2 separate regions of the Homo sapiens genome follow, and region 2 is linked to region 1. Evidence: promoter capture Hi-C in 16 types of primary human blood cells and fetal thymus (Javierre and others, 2016). All regions are on one chromosome and are shown on one strand. Each heading gives the region's core, a stretch centred on a gene start or on the middle of the fragment in contact. The rest is flanking DNA. Distances are from core to core; before and after follow the strand shown.

Evidence for each region. Contacts are between HindIII fragments. The CHiCAGO score rates a contact against its expected background, and 5 or more counts as called.
Region 2: a fragment that was not itself captured here is called in contact with the fragment with the promoter of MYO5C in region 1 in 1 of 17 cell types (naive CD4 T cells); the score reaches 5.8 in naive CD4 T cells.

The regions. Positions count from the first base shown.
Region 1 is chr15:52,294,375-52,297,476 of GRCh38, reverse strand. MYO5C (myosin VC) reads left to right here and starts at 1,673. Exons shown (of 41, transcript NM_018728.4): 1 at 1,673-1,867. The coding sequence starts at 1,841. It overlaps LOC105370819 (a long non-coding RNA gene), which reads right to left and starts at 2,593. Exons shown (of 4, transcript XR_932250.3): 1 at 2,266-2,593. RefSeq lists a silencer at 1,850-2,009. The HindIII fragment of the contact is 736 bases long and covers 1,638-2,373 here.
Region 2 is chr15:52,747,204-52,750,305 of GRCh38, reverse strand. No RefSeq gene overlaps it. Among named protein-coding and RNA genes, the nearest start is that of ONECUT1, 42 kb to the left of the region's middle. The HindIII fragment of the contact is 985 bases long and covers 975-1,959 here.

The DNA.
Region 1 (3,102 bases), core at 424-2,923:
ACTGTCTCTTTGGGTGACTGTGAGAATTTTTCTGCCTACATTTATTTTCATAACTATTCTCAAATTGCTCTCCAGGATGGCAGTATATTCCCACCAGTTATGTAAGCAAAAAAAGTTTTTATTTTTTTTATTTATTTTTTTTTTTTTTTTGAGACGGAGTCTCGCTCTGTCGCCCAGGCTGGAGTGCAGTGGCGCAATCTCGGCTCACTGCAGGCTCCGCCCCCTGGGGTTCACGCCATTCTCCTGCCTCAGCCTCCCGAGTAGCTGGGACTACAGGCGCCCGCCACCTCGCCCGGCTAATTTTTTGTATTTTTAGTAGAGACGGGGTTTCACCGTGTTAGCCAGGATGGTCTCGATCTCCTGACCTCGTGATCCGCCCGCCTCGGCCTCCCAAAGTGCTGGGATTACAGGCGTGAGCCACCGCGCCCGGCCAAGTTTTTATTTTCTCACATCCTAGGCAGTATCTGAGATTGTCTAACCTAAATGTTTTTGCCAATATGATGGGTAAAAAGCAATATCTCATTGTTGTTTTCATTTGTATTTATCTGATTACTGCTAAAGTTGACATCTCCTTGTATGCTAACAAGCCATTTAAGTGTCCCCATCTGTGAATTGCCTATTAATTTTTGTCAGTTTTAAAAATTGGATTTCTTTTCTTTAACCGATTAACAATTCTTCTATATGGAAACTACTATAACCCAACATTTTAAAGATATTATCCCTCTTTTATTCCTAATAATTTCCCGGTTTTAAGTTTTAATCGTGAATCCATCTGGAGCTTATTTTTGGATGCAGTGTTTGCCACGGATCTGCTTTTATTGTTTTTCCATATAACGGGCCCATCTAATAAATATTATTTTATTTCCCTATCTGGTCCTTAAGGCTACCGTATAATGTAGGGCCCTGCTGGGGGGCTCCAGCATGTTCCATTACTCACGTATCCGTTCTCACGCAAGTGTCACACTGTTTTAATGACTACTGCTTTGTTATGTCCCTAAATATATGGCAGGACAAATCTCTCCTCTTTGAGAATTGTCTTAGTTATACAGGGCTTTTATTCTATATGAAATATAGAATCATTGTACAATTCTCCAAAAGTTCTGTAGGATTCTGACGCCAATATATTAGGCATATATATTGATTTGGGTAGAAGTGACACCTTGACCATATTAAATATTCCCAGCCAGGAAAATGGCATGTCTCCCGTTTACCTGGGCCTTCTTTTAAGCTCTTTAAGAGAATTTTAAACATTTTCTCCACAAAGGCCAAGGGCATTTTTGCGAGTGTAATCTCTGGATACTTTATATTTTCACTAATATTGTAAATATCTTGTATTGCATAGACAATGCTCATATAAAGGACCATTACTTATTTTTGTATTTGATTTTGAATACGATGACCTTGCTGGACTCTTAACACATTTCTTTGTGTTCAGTACGTTGATTCCCTTGGGTCTTCCATTTAAATGGTCGTATCCTCTGCTCTTTGAGGAGCTAACACTCGGGCCGGGCAGCCTCCGGATGCATCTGTTCCTGCCTGGCAGCGCGCCCCGGGCCCCAACCTTCTCCACCCGCGCTCCCGCCAGGTGCAGCCGCCCGGCCCCGGCCAATGGCAGCGCCGACTAGCCGGGCCAAGCTTGGAGGGACCAATCCCGCCGCTGCCCCCTCCCCTCGCCGCCAACTCGGGAACGGGAACAGGAGGCCGTTGGAAAACTTTGGGCAAGATGGCCCGGCGGTGATTTCCGCGGCGGTCTCTCCTGCGCCCGGCCTCTGCGGCGCAGGCCCAGCCCCCGAGCCTCGCACGTTCGGCAGCCCCGGCCTGGCCCCGGCCCCTCCTGCCCATGGCGGTGGCCGAGCTGTACACGCAGGTAGGAGGGTCCGCTGGGCTCCTGGGAGCGCTGTGGGGGAGCCGGCCCTGCTAACGCTGACTCGACCTGGCGCCCGGGCCACACCTGCCACACCTGCGCACCTGACACGGCAGGGCGGGCGGGCGCGCGCTGGGGGCCGCGGAGGCGCCGCGGAGGGGCCACGGGGACCGGGGACACGAGCGAGCGTCGCCCCTCCAGGGCCCCGGCGTGCTCCGTCCCTGCCCGCGGGTAAGCCCCCTCCTGGCTCCGCTGCGCCTGGGTGCCCTGTGGGTGGGAAGACCCTGTGGGAGGGGCCGCCCCCTCCGCCGCTCCGGCCTCGGGGCCTAGAATCCCCAGTGCCCAGGGGTCGCGCGTGCGTCCCCATCTCCCGGGACTGGAGCGCCTCGGTCCCTTCCTACCACACCACGGGTGGAATCAGAGTTGCCCATGCGGACGTAGGAAGCTGAGACGCCGGCCAGTCTCCTGGCCCCTCCTGGGACCCCCTTGAACGAGCTGGCATAGAAGCTTATGGCCGCAGTGTTCGGGCTGCTTTCTAGAATTCTGTGTCTTCAAAGTGCGTGAACGTGCATGTAGGCTCATCAGAAGCTGAAGCAGCCTGGGTCACAGGCTTGAGGGCACTGCAGTGGCACCAAGCGCTTGGGGAGCCCAGGGGCCACGAGGTGCAGTCGTAGGCTCTTTGCCTAACATCTGTACTGTTAGCAACAGTACAAACACCACAGTTTCTAAAGCGCCTTTCATATACCCTGACTCTGGGAAACACTAGAGCATTCCTCAGAAGCTTCCTTTCTGCTGGCTGGGGCTCCACCTCTTACCTCGGAAGGGCAGCGTTCCCACATATGTCCCAAACCCTCTGAGATGGGCTTGGGTAATTATTTGGATAAAGAGTGTGACAGTGTTAGCACTTTTGAAAAAAAAAATCCATTTGAATAGCCATAAAGCCTGATCCTCCTATACACCAGTTGGGGAAATCTAGAGACCTCAGTATTCAGACGAGTGGAACTAGAATCCATCCATTTCCCCGGACACATGCTCTAGCTTTCTACTTTAAAAGATGCTTTTGCTGTAGATAGAAAAGATAGTTATTTAAAAAATCATGTTTCAATGGTTTAAGCAAACGTTTTTCTTCTACTTTGATTACTTAGTAACAGTCCGGACACAAAGCAACCGAACTGTAGTTTCTCCTCTATTGCATCTCCATTAACTGGAGTTCTAAATGGACAGTGTTTGAATTGCCC
Region 2 (3,102 bases), core at 218-2,717, 450 kb before region 1:
GGTAGTTTCTACGTTGCATCTACATTTCAGACTAAATGATTATTGTACCCAGTTATGGTTGTTTGCTAATATTTTGTCTCTCTCTCTTTCTCTCTGTCCGATGCTTCTTCTGTATTTTTGTGTGTAGCAACAAAAACGTGTAATGCATTAGGCATTATTCTGGTTTGTTTCTGAGTATCTCCTGTACTGCATTAAGGTTTCTTTCATTTATTTTAAGCTTCGCTACTGTTCTCACTTTATGCCGTGCAATATCATCTGCTGTGTTTGCTAAGCAAAAAAGAAAAAAAAAAAAAAAAAAAAGCAAGTGATGATGCCATCATGCTTTTCAGTGTTAAAATGTTTCAGCATTTATGTAGTCACCAAAATGTAGTAAATAAAATGTTGGATTTTCCAGCACTTTAAATTTAGACAATCCTTGCCTTCTTTTGTTTTTATTCTACCTGAAATCCTAAGCAAGTAGCTCATCGAGTTTCTTTGGAGGAAGGGTGAAACGGAGAGGACAACACGCTTGAAAACAAAAGCCAGTGCCATGGTCAAAGAAAGATTAATGCAGGGAAATAAAGAGATGTTCTCTAGTGGAGCAAAATAATGCTTTTAAATGAAAGTGGAACATTCTATTTCTAGAGATTAGCCATTTATATTAACCTGATTGACTCTCAGAAGAAGTAAAAATTATTATTAGAGAGGATGGTCCTTAAAAGCCCTCTCCAGTAAAATAACTTGTGTAGGCAGTTGTGTGTGTCAGAAGCTGGGGGGCAGGGAAATTAAGGTCCTCTTTAATACAATGTAGTAACCGATCAAGAGGCCTGGCTCGGGAAACACAGTTTGGCTTTCCTGCTGTGCTGATTACTAATTGTGAGACCTTAGGCAAATTACTTAACTTCCCTCAGTCTGTTTCCTCATCTGTAAAATAGGCATAAGTATCTACATTATAGCGTGGTTGTGAGGATTAGACACTAGAAGTAGGTAAAGCTTAGCCCAGTGTCCGGCATATAAATCCTCCATAAATCTTAGCTATATTTATTATCAGCAAATTAGATAGATGATAGATAGACAGATTGATTGATTGATTTAGAGACAGGGTCTTGCCACGTTACCCAGGCTAGCGTCAAACTCCTAGGCTCAAGCGATCCTCCTGGGCTTCAGCCTTCCTAGTAGCTGGGATTACAGGCTCAGCAAATATCTTAAAATGCAGATTTTTTCCAGTTAAAAAAACTATTTTTGTCCGGGCGCGGTGGCTCACACCTGTAATCCCAGCACTTTGGGAGGCCAAGGTGGGCGGATCATGAGGTCAAGAGATCAAGACCATCCCAGCCAACATGGTGAAACCACATCTCTACTAAAAATAGAAAAAACATTAGCTGGGCGTGGTGATGCATGCCTGTAGTCCCAGCTACTCAGGAGGCTGAGGCAGCAGAACCACTTGAACCCGGGAGGTGGAGGTTGCAATGAGCCAAGATCGTGTCACTGCACTCCAGCCTGGCGACAGAGTGAGACTCCGTCTCAAAACAAAGAAGTAGACAAACAAAAAAACTATTTTCTAAGGTTTTTCATTTTTTAAATATAGGGGTAAGACTGATCTCCCTTTTTAAATTTTTATTTATTTATTTATTTATTTTGAGATAGGGTCTCCTTGTGTCACCCAGGCTGGAGTGCAGCGGCATAATCACCGCTCACTGCAACCTGGACCTCCTGGGCTAACGTGATCCTCCTGCCTCAGCCTTCCAAGTAGCTGCAAATACAGGCACATGCCACCATACCCCACTAATTTTTGTGTGTGGGGTTTTTTTGTTGGTTTGTTTGTTTTGTTTTGTTTTTGTAGAGACAGGTTCTTGCCACGTTGCCCAGGCTGTTCCTGAACTCCTGGCCTCCCAAAGAGCTGGCGTTATAAGCATGAGCCGCTGTACCCAGCCTTGGCTATTTTTAATGAAGGTGATATTAATGTTCTTCTACAAAGCTTTTTGTGGACATTTTCTAAAAAGTTTTATTCTGAAATAATTTCAAACTCACAGAAAAGTTGCAAGGATGCATAAGGAATTCTTATGTACCTATTAGCCAGATTTAACAATGCTTTATATTTTGTCACATTTGCTTTATCATTCTCTGTGTATATGTTTACATAATTATTTTCCTGGAACCTTGGGAGAATAGGTTGCATATATCATGCCCATTTATCTCTCAATACTTTCACATGTATAGTCATGAGTGGGCTTTGGGGCATACCAGTGGGATGGTGGGAGGTATGCTGAGCTCTGCCCCAAGGATGATTAATATCAATTTCAATACTATATAAACATTTTGTTCCTATATAGCTCTGTTCTCTCTTGTGATGATCAGTTTTATGTGTCAACTTGACTAGTCTCTGGTCCCCAGTTACTCATTCAAACACTAGGTGTTGCCATGAAGGTATTTTGTGGATGTGATTGCTGTTCATAATCAGCTCACTTTAAATAAAGGAGAATATCTCACACGGGTGTGCAGAGCAGTCCAGATTCTCAGGAATATATTGAAACTTTTCAAAGCCCTCAATGGGGTAAAGCAAAAAGTATCTGAGACAGGTCTTGATCAATTTAGACATTTATTTGGCCAAGTTTAAGGACTTCCCTGGAAGAAAAAAACACAGAATCACAGAAACAGTCTGTGGTCTGTGCCTTTCTCCAAAGATGAATTTGAGCACTTCAATATTTAAAGGGGCAGAGTGGACTGGAGGGGAAAGAGGGAAGGCATGGTCATCCACATGTTGCAAGGGAAAACGAGCAGTAGGGGAAGAGTCAATTATATATTCCTCTCACTCTCAGTAAATCAGCACATTATATAAGATAACGTGAACATAGAGTAGCTACCTGTGAAGATATTTGACCTTTTATCTGTAGCTATCTGCTTAGGAACAAAAGAAAAGGCAGCTTCTTGCATGACTCAGCTTTCAGATTAATTTTTTCCTTTTGGCAGAGTAAAGTAGGGTCCCAAGTTTTTACTTTCCTTTCACATTTCATATCTCATTCCCCAAATTTTCCTTTAAGATTTTTGGTCAGCTTTTGAGTTGGTCTCAACTGTTGTCACTGGCTCAGGCAACTGCAATATTAAACAATCATCCCTGATTGT